Regions from separate parts of the Homo sapiens genome. Here region 1 is linked to region 2. Evidence: promoter capture Hi-C in 16 types of primary human blood cells and fetal thymus (Javierre and others, 2016). All regions are on one chromosome and are shown on one strand. The core of a region is centred on a gene start or on the middle of the fragment in contact, and the rest is flanking DNA. Distances in the headings are between cores, read along the strand shown. Region 1 overlaps LL0XNC01-250H12.3 (a long non-coding RNA gene). Region 2 holds the start of TCEAL5 (transcription elongation factor A like 5).

Evidence for each region. The method cuts DNA at HindIII sites, captures the fragments that hold promoters and counts their contacts. A CHiCAGO score of 5 or more calls a contact.
Region 1: a contact is called between a fragment that was not itself captured here and the fragment with the promoter of TCEAL5 in region 2, in 1 of 17 cell types (naive CD4 T cells). The highest score is 5.1, in naive CD4 T cells.

The regions. Positions count from the first base shown.
Region 1 is chrX:103,491,908-103,498,945 of GRCh38, reverse strand. The region is part of intron 5 of LL0XNC01-250H12.3 (a long non-coding RNA gene); the gene reads right to left. It also overlaps a transcript of RAB40A not described here. Among named protein-coding and RNA genes, the nearest start is that of RAB40A, 24 kb to the left of the region's middle. The HindIII fragment of the contact is 981 bases long and covers 2,066-3,046 here.
Region 2 is chrX:103,274,745-103,281,950 of GRCh38, reverse strand. It overlaps TCEAL5 (transcription elongation factor A like 5), which reads left to right and starts at 5,201. Exons shown (of 3, transcript NM_001012979.3): 1 at 5,201-5,278; 2 at 6,609-6,676. The HindIII fragment of the contact is 11,652 bases long and covers 1-7,206 here.

The DNA of each region.
Region 1 (7,038 bases), core at 1,307-3,806, 220 kb before region 2:
AGAGGTTAATGAGATCACATCTGGGAAAGCACTTCTGAGACCTTAGATGGGAAAGAAGGAGAAGTGGTTTCCACGTAGTTACTTTCCAATTTACACTGTTGATTATTATAATAATTGATATTGGATGAACTGAGTAAATATAAGTCCTTGTACTCTTTTGTAATTGAATGACCATTTATTTGTGCATTGTCATAGGGTGATTGTAACAAAGTCCCGCAGAAGGGCAGTATCTCTGGCCTCACGGAGCTGTGGGGACTCACCCTTCCTGAACGCTGGTACTTTTCTATCTCATGAATTTCCCACAACATTCCTGGGAGGTAGAGGATATAATCTCTACACCATCCTGTAGCTTAAGAAACAGGGATGTTTGCAGGTTAAGCAACCTGGCTGGGGAGCATCCTGCCACTAAGTGGAAAAGCAGAGACTAGCATCCTATATGCCCCCAGGCAGACTGTGATGCTGAGCTGCACATCACAACATAACCAAGCAAATCTTGCTTTCCTGCTGACCTGGGTCACTACTGAAATCTGTATCTTCAGCTCTGAAGCCAGGCTGCCAGTTCTGTCTCTCTTATGAAAGACAGAGAACCTTGTCAGACCTAAATTTCCTACTCTGTAGACAAGGGAGTGTGTCTGGGCCATTGCTTTAGAAACGAGTCCGCAGACAGTTCCTGTATCAGGAAGAATATGCACTCTCAGAGGGACAGGGGCCATGCTGAGGGTGAATACTTGAAGGAGCAGGCCCCAAACACATGCAGATCGGGGATGCATAGAGTCTTTAATAGAAATTACCAAATCAACCTTGAAAGAGGTTGTACTAAATGACATCCCCACCACCAATATGAAACAGGGTAGGCTTCCCCGCATGCCCACCTTACTGGAATCCTGAATGGTTTCTTTTTATACTTTGATGATATGACAGGTGGAAATTCTTTCATTGTCATTATATTTAATTTGATGTTCAGATAACTTAAAAAATTCCCTAGTATACAAAATGCTCTGATAATCATCATTGCATTATATTTTTATTGCAAACTGGTCCATTTTCATATGTAGCCTAAAAACAATGAGCAACAGGCACATTAGCCTGCAAGTTCTCCTAGAGCTACTGGTGGCATTATGGTTCCAGGGTGTGTTTGTGGCCTCTGGGGAATACTGATGGCAGTGTGTTTGTCTAGAAGATTAAGAACATCTCTCTGTGATATTAGTTGAATTCAATATTAGAGAAGAGCTGGAGTCTTTTTAAGTGACACAAGAGCTGGACCACAACATGCTTCTGAGCAGGCTGTAATCCTGTCCCTGTGATGGACAGCAAGCCTTTCTGTGACCTCACCTGCTCAGGTCAGGGTGGATCCCTCCAGAACGTAAGGTATGGCAATTGGCCTAAATCTGCTTCTGAACACTGAAGCTGAGTGCTCCCATCTTCCTGCCGTCAGTTGCAGAGACTGGAGAAGCTGCATCTTCTCAGACACCAAAACCACGGGTTCAGTCACCTGTGTGAGGAGCTCAGTGCTGGAAGATAAAATACCAGCACCTGTTTGACACATCGTGCATCCATCCATCCATCTGTCCATCCATCCATCCATCCATCCATCCATCTATCCATCCCCATAGTTAACAGGCATTAAAGTCAAATGACACCATCCCTCTGGTTAAGTTTTAGACTTCCCCAGAATAGAAACAAGGAAGTAAGGGGGTTGTGGTAAACTCAGTTTCTAGACCTAAGAAGAGATGGCTCCTTCTCCTTAATATTTCCACCCTGAGAGAGCCTCTTATCATTGATAATTTTAAAACATAATTTAAAACCCTAGACCTCTCTCTACAACCCTAGTTACTGTTCTCTTTACATATATTCTCCCATTGCAACCAAAGTTCTATGAAGAATTCTCAATACTCAACTCACATCCCTTTGCACCTCCCTCCACCTCAGTCCTCATTCCTCATCTAATGGTGCTTTGTTCCCGCACCCCTCTGTTGAAATGAACCCCATCAAAACCAACAGCCACCCCTTTGTCCCATTTATAGATCAAGAGTGTTAAAATGAACATCTATATGGAGACAAAGCTTCCCCCGCAATGACAAAATTCAGTTGCTTTTGTATAGACAAAGATTATATTGCAATGCTATATTTACCTAAAAGCTAGCATTGTAAAATAGCTTCCATAAGAGTCAGTCAGATAACGTGAAGGCTGTGCTACAGGAACTGTGCTATCAGTTGAAGTACAACATTTCCCCAACATATCCCATACTATTGCTTCAATAAAAGGAATTTTGCAAATAGATTTACTGCATGTTAGCAATATTTTTATGATCACTTCAATAAATTCTGTTTATTGTTTTATTTCTTTCTGAAGGAATTACTAAGTATGCAATGTAATCGCCTGAAATTAAAATGTTGTTTCAAAATTTGTCGTGGTTAAATATATTGCCTAAAAGCATTGTCTGATTGTTTAATATGCCATAATTTGGTAATATAATGGTGGTGAAATATAATAGTAGATAGAGGGAACTCTTGCAGTCTCCTGATTAGGTCAGAATTCTTCTACTGCACCACACAAATCATAATTCTGGAATTCCTTTTGGAATGTTTCCATTTGGTAAACTATCACAACTATATGATAAGTGTACATGATTCCATACTGATATAAATTAAGTGTTTCCATTGACAAAGAAATGGGTCAGAGAAGACAAATTGTCTCAATCAAATAATTCTAAACAATATATGTGGCTAACCCTCAGTTCATGAGGTGAAGTTTAATTCTGTCCTCTACCTCCTAAGAACAGGGCTGACTTAGTGACTTACTTCTACAGAAAAGAGTATAGGAATGTAAAATAGTTACCACACACTGGAGAAATTTGGCAAACAGTACCTTAACCAAGTGATGAAGGTTAACATCACCATTGATATCATATGGGTAGCATGTAAACCCATATATGGTGTGATAAAAAGGGCAATTCATCTCTGCGGTATTCCTTCTGAAAACCCATAACCTCAGTCTAATAATGAGAAAAACAAGTTATGCCTGTACTTCTCATGAAATCAAGCTTATGAAAATAGTCTGGCCATACCTCAAATGGTTAACAGGGAGTTACCATATGACACAGCAATTCCACCCCTAGGTACATAGCCAAAAGAAATATGCCTACATAAAAACTTGTACCTGAATGTATACAGGATCATCATTCAAAATAGCCAAAGAGTGGAAACAACCCAAATGCTCATCAATTGATACATGGATAAAATGTGGTATATTCAGCAATAAATATGGATGAGGAACTGATATATGCTGCAACACAGATTTTGAAAACATTATGTAAAGTGAAAGAAGCCAGATGCAAAAGACCAAATATTGTTTGATTTCACTTATATAAAATGTCAAAAACAAGCAAATCCACAGAGAAACAAAGCATATCTGTGATTGCCTAGGGCTGGGGGTGGGCACAGGGATTAACTGCATTCAAGCAGGATGGGTAATCTTAGGGTGATGAAAATGTCTAAAACTCAACGATGAAGTCCCAGCTACAGCAATCAGACAAGAGAAAGAAATAAAGGGCATCCAAACTGGAAAAGAAGAAGTCAAATTATCCTTGTTTGCAGATGACATGATCTTATATTTGGAAAAACCTAGACTCCATCAAAAAACGATTAGAACTCATAAACAAATTCAGTATAGTTGCAAGATACAAAATCAACATACAAAAATCAGTAGTGTTTCTATATGCCAGCCAAGAGTGAACAATCTAAAAAATAAATTTAAAAGTAATCCCATTTACAATAGCCATAAATAAAATTAAATACACAGGAATTAACCAAAGAAGTGAAAGGCCTCTATAATGAAAGCTATAAAACACTGATGACAGAAATTGAAGATGACGCCAAAAAATGGAAAAGTATTTCATGTTCATTGATTGGAAGAATCAATATTGTTAAAATGTCCATTCTACTCAAAGCAATCTACAGATTTAATACAATCCCTATCAAAATACCAATGACATTCTCCACAGAAACAGAACAATCCTAAAATTCATATAGAATCACAAAAGACCCAGAATTCCCAAAGCTATCTTGAGCAAAAAGAACAAAACTGGAGGAATCACAATACCTCACTTCAAATTATACTACAGAGCTATATCACCAAAACAGCATGGTACTGGCATAAAAACAGACACATAGACCAGTGGAACAGAATAAAGAACCCAGAAACAAATCCACACACCTACAGTGAACCCATTTTCAACAAAGAACCTATACTGAGGAAAAGACAGTCTCTTCAATAAGTGGTGCTGGGAAATCTGGAAATCCATACGCAGAAGAATGAAAATAGACCCTCTATTTCTTGCCATATACAAAAATTAAATCAATATCAGTTAAAGGCTTAAATCTAAGACTTCAAACTATGAAACTACAAGACTTTGGGGAAACTCTCCAGGACATTGGTCTGGGCAAAGATTTCTAGAGTAATACCCCAACACAGGCAACCAAAGCAAAAACGGACAAATGGAATCACATCAAGTTAAAAAGCTTTTGCACAGCAAAGGAAACAATCAACAAAGTGAAGAGACAACCCACAGAATGGGAGAAAATATTTGCAGACTACCCATTTGACAAGGGATTAATAACCAGAATATATAATGAGCTCAAACAACTCTATAGCAAAAATAACTAAACTGATTAAAAGGTGGGCAAAAGATTTGAATAGACATTTCTCTAAAGAAGACATACAAATGGCAGACAGGCATATGAAAAGGTGCTCAACTTCATTGATCATCAGAGAAATGCCAATCCAAACTACAACAAGATATCATCTCACCCCAGTTAAAATGGCTTATATCCAAAAGACAGGCAATAACAAATGCTGGCAAGGATGTGGAGAAAAGGGAAACCTTGTACACTGTTGGTAGGAATGTAAGTTAGTAAAACCACTATGTAGAACATTTTGAAGGTTCCTCAAAAAAACTAAAAATTGAACTTCCATATGACCCGCAATCCCACTGCTGGGTATATACCCAAAAGAAAGGAAATCAGTATATTAAAGAGACATCTGCACTCCCATGTTTGTTGCAGCACTGTTCACTATAGCTAACATTTGGAAGCAACTTAAGTGTCCATCAAGAGATGAATGGATAAAGAAAATGTGGTACACATACACAACGGAGTACTAGTCAGCCATCAAGAAGAATGTGATTCAGTCATTTGCAAAAACATGGATGGAACTGGAAGTCATTATGTTAAGTAAAATAAGCCAGGCACAGAAAGACAAACATTGCATGTTCTCACTTATTTGTGGGAGATAAAAATGAACGCAATTGAACTCATGGAGGTAGAGACTAGAAGGATGGTTACTAGAGGCTGGGAAGGATGGTGGCAGGCTGGAGGGGAGGTGCATATGGTTAATGAGTATAAAAAAATTAGAAAGAATGAATAAGACCTAGTACTTGGTAGCACAACAGGGGGACAATAGTCAATAATAATTTAAGTGTGCATTTCAAAATAACTAAAAGAGTATAATTGAATTGTTTGTAACACAAAGGATAAATGCTTGAGGGGATGGATACCTAATTTTTAATGATGTGATTATTACACATTCCCTACCTGTACCAAAATCTCATGTATCCCCAAAAATATATATGCCTATTATGTACCCACAAAAATTAAAAATAAAAGATTTTAAAACCCTCAATTATGAAGATCATTGCACAACTCTATACATTTACTAAAAATCACAAAATTCTATCTTCAAAAGCATGCATTTTATTGTCCATAAATTATACTACAAGAAAGCCGTTTAAAAATATGATATTGCCCTGGTCTTCTGTTGTACCACAGTAGTGACCAAACTTTTTCATACAAAGGCTGTGATGTACATCTTTTATATAAATGTGAATGCATGTAAAACGGTAGCTGTATCCCAGCCCTGCTGACTCTTTGTCATATGTTCCTCCAAGGATTTTCCCCTCCTAACACTATCCCACATGTTACTTCGGGTTTTACTCGGGTGTAAAGTTTGATTTTCATCTGATCACTTCCACATGTTCCAACTGTGGCAATGGCTTGAGAGTAGGTCTACAACAAAGTATAGGGCATTTACTGTCTAACAGGATGTCATTACTATTACTTTCTTCACTCCCCTGTGTGTTTTCTTGCATGACTTCACTTAGGGAGTCTAAATAGCACTACCTTGATGAGTGTCAGTGTGGCAATATTTATCAAAAACCTACATATGGACACACTGTTTGCACAAACAATTTCCCTTGAACAAGTTTATCTTCAGAATGTAAGGAAGGATGTGGATAAGGATATGGTAAAAAGAACTGCTATTCTGATAATTCCCTTCCTTTACTTCTGGGCCTTGTGAAGCCTGAAAGAACCAGTCCTTCAAGATAAATCCTGGGTGTTTAACTGGGCCTAAATTCAAATTAGAGCCAAGTGGCCATTTGCTGAGTAGAGGTCACACATGACTTCGAGTTCCCAGAAAACCTGAAAGTCTGCTTAACTTTGGGACTTTCATAGCTGCCTGTTCCTTTTTATGGTGCTTGAACCAACCAATAAGCTTTCACCTATGTCAACCAATCAGAACTAAGCAAGTTGGAATCCTTCATTTGCATAAGTTGACCTGAGTGGGAACCTGGGTGAGAATTTTCTTCATAAAAGACAAACCTTCCCTTTGTCCTCTGGAACACACCTTCATTTTATACTGAAGGCTACATCTCCCCGATTTGCAAACTATTCACTGGAATAAAGTCTCTTTCCTCTAAATTCCTTTTCAGAGAACTTTTGTTCTCAGCCTGAATTTAGGAAGGGAGACCAAATGAGATGCAAAGCCATGAAGGAAAAGAAGGAAGCAGAGGAAAATGTGGTTGTCATCACACACACAATCACGCCAGCACATACACAATCACACACACACACACACACACATTTATACATGGACCAGGCTCTTTTTATCACAATACTAGTATTCTTCTATGACAGTTTGGTGAGTTCCAAGAGGACACATTTGGCTCACCAGTCCAAACAGCCACAGGAACTGTGCCCGGA
Region 2 (7,206 bases), core at 3,952-6,451:
TAGAGGCCTGTCAGTTCCCCTTCTTGGGCTGCTGATCAACTCCACACTCTATCCACTTCACTTATCAGGTGTTCACGCTTTGGGCCGCTTCAGACCAGCCCTATCCACCTAGGGGCCAGGTATAGACAGCTAGGGACAGCCCTTATACCCTGGAGCCTGAGAAATTATTCAAGTTAGCCATTACTCAGGGAGCCAGTGAAACCTAGCTAATCCCACCCCACTTGCCATAAGTAAGCTGCTCCTTACAGCTCCAATTTGCTGTTACCCAGATGCAACCCCCTGTGTGGTCTTGCCTGGTAGCCTTCTCTAGTTTGGAGCCATAAGTAACAAAAGTTCTTCCTTTCATTTTTCCAAGTGACCGTGTGTTGTGTCCTGCCATCAAAATAATCTTAAAATCTTATAAAACAACCCTAAATTACACCATATAAAAATTAACTCAAAATGAATCAAAAACCTAAATGCAAGAGCTAAAACTATGAAACCCTTAGAAGAAAGCAAAGGGGTAAATCTTCATGACCTTGGATTTGGCAATAAATTTTTAGATATGACACCAAAACCATGAACAACAAAAGAAAAATAGATGAATTGGACTTCTTCAAAATGAAAAACTTTTGTGCATAAAAGGACACTATTAAGAAAGTGAAAGAGAACCTATAGAATGGGAGGAAATATCTACAAACCATATATCAAATAAGGAACTAATATCCAGAATATATAAGAACTATTACAACTCAACAACAAAAAGCCAAACAACCTAATTAAAAAATGGGTAAGGATATGCAGAAGATTGAGACTGGATCCCTGCTTCCTTACAACATATACAAAAATCAACTCAAGATGGATTAAAGACTTAAATGTAAAACCCAAAACTATAAAAACCCTGGAAGACAACCTAGACAACACCATCCTGGACATAGAAATGGGCACAGGTGTCATGACAAAGACACCAAAAGCAATTGCATCAAGAGCAAAAATTGACAAACGAGATTTAATTAAACATAGGAGCTTGTGTATGGCAAAAGAAACTATCAACAGAATAAACAGACAACCTACAGAATGGGAGAAAATATTAGCAAACTATGCATCTGACAAAGGTCTAATATCGAGCAAGTATAAGGGACTTAAACAAATTTGCAAGAGGAAAAACAACCCCATTAAAAAGTGGGCAAAGGACATGAACAGACACTTCAAAAGAAGACATACATGCAAGCTCAATATCACTGTGGAAAGCAGTGTGTCGATTCCCGTAAGAGTTAAAAACAGAACTACCATTTGACCCAGCAATTCCATTACTGGGTATACACCCAGAGGAATGTAAATCATTCTACCATAAAGGCATATACACACGAATGTTCACTGCAGCACTATTCACAATAGCAAAGACATGGAATCAACCTAAATGTCCATCAATGACAGATTGGATAAAGAAAATATAGTACATATACATCACGGAATACTATGCAACCATAAAAAAAGAACAAGATCATGTATTTTGCAGGAATATGGATGGAGCTGGAGGCTATTATCCTCAGCAAACTAATGCAGGAACAGAAAACCAAATACCAGATGTTCTCACTTACAAGTGGGAGCTAAATGATGAGAACTCCTGAACACAAAGAAGGGAACAATAGATATTGGGACCTACTTGAGGGTGGAGGATGGGAGGAGGATGAGGATTAAAAAACTACATATTAGGTACTATGATTATTATTTGGCTGATGAAATAAAGTGTATACCAAGCCCCTGTGACATGCAATTTACCTATGAAACAAACCTGCACATGTGTCCCCAAACCTAACATAAAATTTAAAAAATAAAAAATAAAAATTGGCAAAGCACTTGAATAGATATTTCTCCAAAGGAAATATACGAATATCCAACAAACCCAAGAAAAGATACTCAACATCATGGGTCATTAAGAAAATGCAAATCAAAACCACTTCTCTCCCACTAGGATGATAAACATAAAAAATAGAAATTAACAATTGTTTGCAAGGATATGGTAAAATTGGAGTCTTGCTGATAGGAATGCAAAATGTTGCAGTTACTGTGGAACACAGTTTGGCGGTTTCTCAAAAATTTAAACATAGAATTACCATATGACCCAATGATTACACTCCTAGCTATATATGCAAGAGAAGTAAAGACATACACCCACACAAAAACTTATACATAATTGTTTATGGTAGCATTATTTATAACAGCCAAAAGGCAAAAACAATCCAAATATCTATCAACATACAAATGGATAAACAGAGTGTGGTATGCACATAAAATGAAATATTAATTCATAAAAAGGAATGAAGTATTGCACATGCTACAATGTAGATGAACCTTGAAAACATTATGCTAAGTGAAAGAAGCCAGACACAAAAGGTCACATATTGTACAATTCCATTTATGGGAAATATCTAGAATAGGTAAGTTCATAAAGATGGAAAGCAGATAAGTCATTGCTAGGGACTAGGGGGAAAAGGGAATTGAGAATGACTGCTTAATGGGTATGGGGTCTCTTTTCAGATTGATGAAACTGTTTTGGAACTAAATAGAGGGGATGGTTACACAATATTTTGAGTGTACTATACATGTCACTGAACTGTACACTTTAAAATGGTTAATTCTATGTTATGTGAATTTCTCTTTTAAATAGAGAATAAAGATAGCACGATTTGAAAAAAATGTATACAGAAGTATATTCTTTGGGTCAATGGCCTTCATCTTTTTAATATTACATACCCCTTTGAACATCTAATGAGAGCAACGGAACCTATTCTCAGCAAATGTGCACATACAATAAAAATGTATATATCCAGCCTGGGTGCGGCAGCTCATGCCTGTAATCCCAGTGCTTCGGGAGGCTGAGGCAGGGGGCTCACTTGAGGTCAAGAATTGGAGACCAACCTGGGCAATGTAGGGAGACACTGTCTGTACAAAAATTTAAAGAAATTAGCTGGGAGTTGTGGCGTGCACCAGTAGTCCCAGTTACTCAGAAGGCTGAGGTGAGAAGATCCCTTTAGCCCAGGAGTTGAAGGCTACAGTGAACTATAAATGCACCACTGGACTCTAGTCTGGACAACAGAGTGAAACCACGACCACACACACACACACACACACACACACACACACAAGTTTGAACATAATTTTAGGGGATTCATAGTTTAATAATGCCTGAACCCAAGGAATAGATGAGCTCTCTTTAACATGGCTCAGCTGCTATTTGTGTCTTCCCCTTCTTATCTCTTTGTCAAGTAGCTTCTTCTTTCTGTCCTTTATGGTTTCCTCTTTTTCATGATGTCAACTTGCTTATATAAAATAAAAACATACATCCACACAAAAACTTATACGTGATTGTATATGGCAGCATTATTTATAACAGCTAAAAGATGAAAATGCCTAAATATTCATCAACATATGATGGATAAACAGAATGGGGTGTGCAAATAGAACAAAACACTATTCAGGCTCCTAGGGTACAGATCTTCTTCTCACAAGAGTGTGCATACTCCACTACTTCCTAAACATATGCAATTTTACATGCCCTTTCAGGTGGCCCACAGACTTCATCAATTGGGAATACTTGGTCTAGGTCAATATGGACAGCATGGCAGAACTCCTTAGACACTGGCCTAAATTTGCTGAGACAGTCATAGGTTAGTATGGACTGGCAGGCAGCAATCCTGCAGCAAGGTTAGGCTCCCTCTGGGTTCCCTGAAGATACAGAGTTTGGGGGTGAGAGGCCCGCCAGACTGCACTTTTTAGGCTAGGCGGGAGGTAACAGACAGGGTCTAGGGAGGCTTCCACTCAGGCACTGTGAATAAGGGCAGAGAGCAGGCAGGTTGCAGGGGACTCTACCCCAGCAATCACTTCAGGCCTCATGAACACCCTCAGCTGCAAGGGTCTAGAAGAGATCTGTTCTAGTTTTCTAGAGGCATGAACAATGCTCCACTCTGTGCTGGGGCTGGGTTATCCCTGTGGGAATTAGGGGGAGGGAGGAGGGAAGGAGCCAAAGGCATTTACTCATATCACCACCTTGGTCACCTGTCCAGTTATATTCTTGGACAGATGACTCTTGAGCAACAGAGTCATGTGCCTGGGGATGAGAAATGCAGGGGATGAGAAATTCTAGAATATGAGGGGGTGGAGAAGAACACCTTCCCCTGATCTTGGCAGGGCAGGGAGGATAGGACCATTTCTGCATCCTTCACATCTCCTGCAGCCTTGGTCTCACAGCTCTTCCCTTCCCCTAGAGCTAAACATTTGAATGAAAATAGCCATGAGCCAAATTTTTTAAAGAGACATTTTTGAATTTTCTTTCAACCATCAGATTCCAGCAAGTCTATTTAGCACTCAGTAATCGTTTGGGAACATTAAATGTGTGTGTGTGTGTGTGTGTGTGTGTGTGTGTGTGTGTGTGTGTGTGTTAAATAGAACGTGAGAGAACCAGCTATTTATGAAAAATTTCTAATGTATATTTTGCTTGTTGCCAATTGAATTCCTTGTGTATATGGCAAAAGTTAATATTATGAACCTAATTTGGTCTCTCTTCTGAGTAGAAAATTTTGAAATCTTTTAAGTTTTTCTCTCTCTTAAACACTTTCTCATAAATGAAATAGCTTTATTTAATTTTGTGCTTATAAGAATAACCCATGCTGAGGAGAGTGAATTAAATAAGATCAAAAAAATTTAAAAAAATAAAACCCCTATTTTAACTACTTGTGTCCCTACTTGACAATCCACCTTGTACCCATTATGAGAAGGTCTGGTTCACAGGCAGAATGAACATCAGTGGCTGCGTGTAGAATTAGATCGAGTAGGTGCCTTCGGATAAAAGGAGAGAAAGAAAAAAAATTCCTCTGAGATGTACCAATGGCCAATAGCTCTAGAAGAAGGTGCGGTCCCTCCCTGATAACCACGGAAGAATAAATACATACTACACAGAGAAAGGGCCACATTTGACCTGTGGGATTAGCAAAGACCAAAATGAGTGACAGGGCCCCGTGCTGTGGGGCGAGAGAGAGAGCTAAGCCGGGGTTGGGGGTGCTGAGGGCGCTCAGACGGACAGACTAGTGAAGGGAAGAAGTGGGCTGGCTCCTGACGCACTTTCTGCGGGTGGGAGGGGAACTAGGGACCCGAGCCCACTGGTGACGTTTTTCTCACGTGATCTGAAGCCGACGTGTGCAGAAGTCCCTCTCCTCCAGGTACCAGATCCCTGTTTCCGTGGAGGAAGGCAGACTTCAGACTGAAGGACAGAGAAGGCAACTGCCCTACAGCCCTGCAGGTCGGTACAAGCCGGGGACCCCTGAGGTAGGGATGGTAATGCACATAGGCTACAGAGGATCGGATCTGCTTTCTAGATACCGCCCTGTTCCACCCCCATTCATTTTGGCGCAGAAATTTTTTTGTGTTGGGCAAGAGGTATGGGTACCAGCTTTTATTTCCCTGGAGAAGTGCAGGCTTCTGGCAGAAGGAAATGTGAGAAAGAGTCATTTCCCCGAGATGGCTACGAACCCATCCACAGCCTGTGGATCCCTGTGGTTGGGATGGCAGAGGGCAAAGACCAGAGCGGGTCCAGGACTGGATTCTCTCCACTCCTTTCCCGATGCTCACTCATTTGGTGCAAGAAATGGAGGGCTTGGTGCGGGGCGGGGAGGGGGGAGGGGGGCGGAACTCGAGAGAGGTCAAGGGTTGAGAATTGGGTACCAGTTGGGAACTCCTAGGAAGCCGGCGACCGGGTGATGTCTGATGGAGGAGGAGGAGGACCAGGGAAGAGAACAGCGACGAAACGGCGAGAAAACGGCCTGATCCCTGCAAGGCAGCGGGAGGCGGGCACAGTCAGTGACCCCAGGCTGCTGAGGGCGGACCCTGCAACGGGTCCAGGCCTGAGTTCCCTGTGTCTTTTCTCCAACCTCCCTCCATTTTGGAGCCGGAAACGGTGGGCTAAGGGGGTCAGGGGAAGGAGGTGCTGTAGAAAAAGGGAGACAGAGGTTTGATCTGGGGATCAGCTCCCTATCCAGGAGGAGTGGCTTCTGAAGTAGGAGGATTGAGATGAGGTAGCAGCAAGACCAAAAATGTTACCGGGTTTGGAAATAATTTGTCTCTTGCATTGCAGAAAAATGTGGGCTTTCTGTGTATGTGGGGAGGGAGGAGGTGGCAGGAGTGTTTTGGACATTTCTGCCCTGCCCCCTATCTCTGTCATCACCATTTTCAGAGAAGTGGTGGGCTCTGCTATTTGGCTACCCTAGGGTGAGGGATTTGGAATGTAGAGATCTGAGTGCATCAGAACACTCTGTCTTCAGAACATCCTTGTCTCTAACCCTACTCATTTTCGTGCCAGAAAAGTGAGATAAAAATTTGGGAGGAAGATTCAGAAACATAGAAACGCTTTGGAAATAATCTTTCTCGCCTATTTCCCACAAGTAGAACAATGGAGGCTCTTAAGAAAGAGCTGCGCGCGGAGGGGGAATCAGAGAATGCAAGGGAAAAGGCGAGGAGGTGATAGGAGCTCGGAAAGTTTTGACAAATACGGTCCCAAAGAACCAGTGTCCAAGTTACCAGTCATTCACTTTCTCAATTTCTCATTCACCCACCTGTTTCTTGTCTTTCTGCAGGTCTTCAAGTCTGTGGTTGTGGGCACTAACCCAGACAAGAAAAGGAAAGACCTGCAGTATCGGTGCAGGTCAGTGGGAGAGGGCTACTGCACCAGGACCCTTGGGAGTAGGAGTAACTTAAGCCAGAGCAGAAGTTGGGGAGGCCACTGCCTGCCACCCCTCCTCCAATCCTCCCTCTTGCAGTTTCGGGATACATGACTGCTGTCAAGACCCTAAGGGGATATGGTGATCTATGGCTGGTGAGGATAGAGGGGAGAATAAGAAAGTAAGAGAATGGAGGTGTAGCATCTGTGATGCCCCCTGAGGACATAAGGGTAGCCCTGAAATCTGAGAACTGGCTATGGTTCTGTTCTGTCTGCAGTTTTATAAGTCTTACAACTGCATGCAAGGGGAAAAAGAAGAAAACTGCCCAGGATTTCTGCAGGTCCGTGTAAATTGGAACTACCCAGTTAAAATTGGTATGGGTAGGCATAGCCAAGGCCAGAGCAAAGTTTAAGGGCCAATATGCTCCTACGCATTTCTCAGCACATCCTCCTTAAATGTAGGGAGAAGCACCTGTGGAAGTTTCTGTAAGGTTGGCTTGTGTGAACATGTGTAA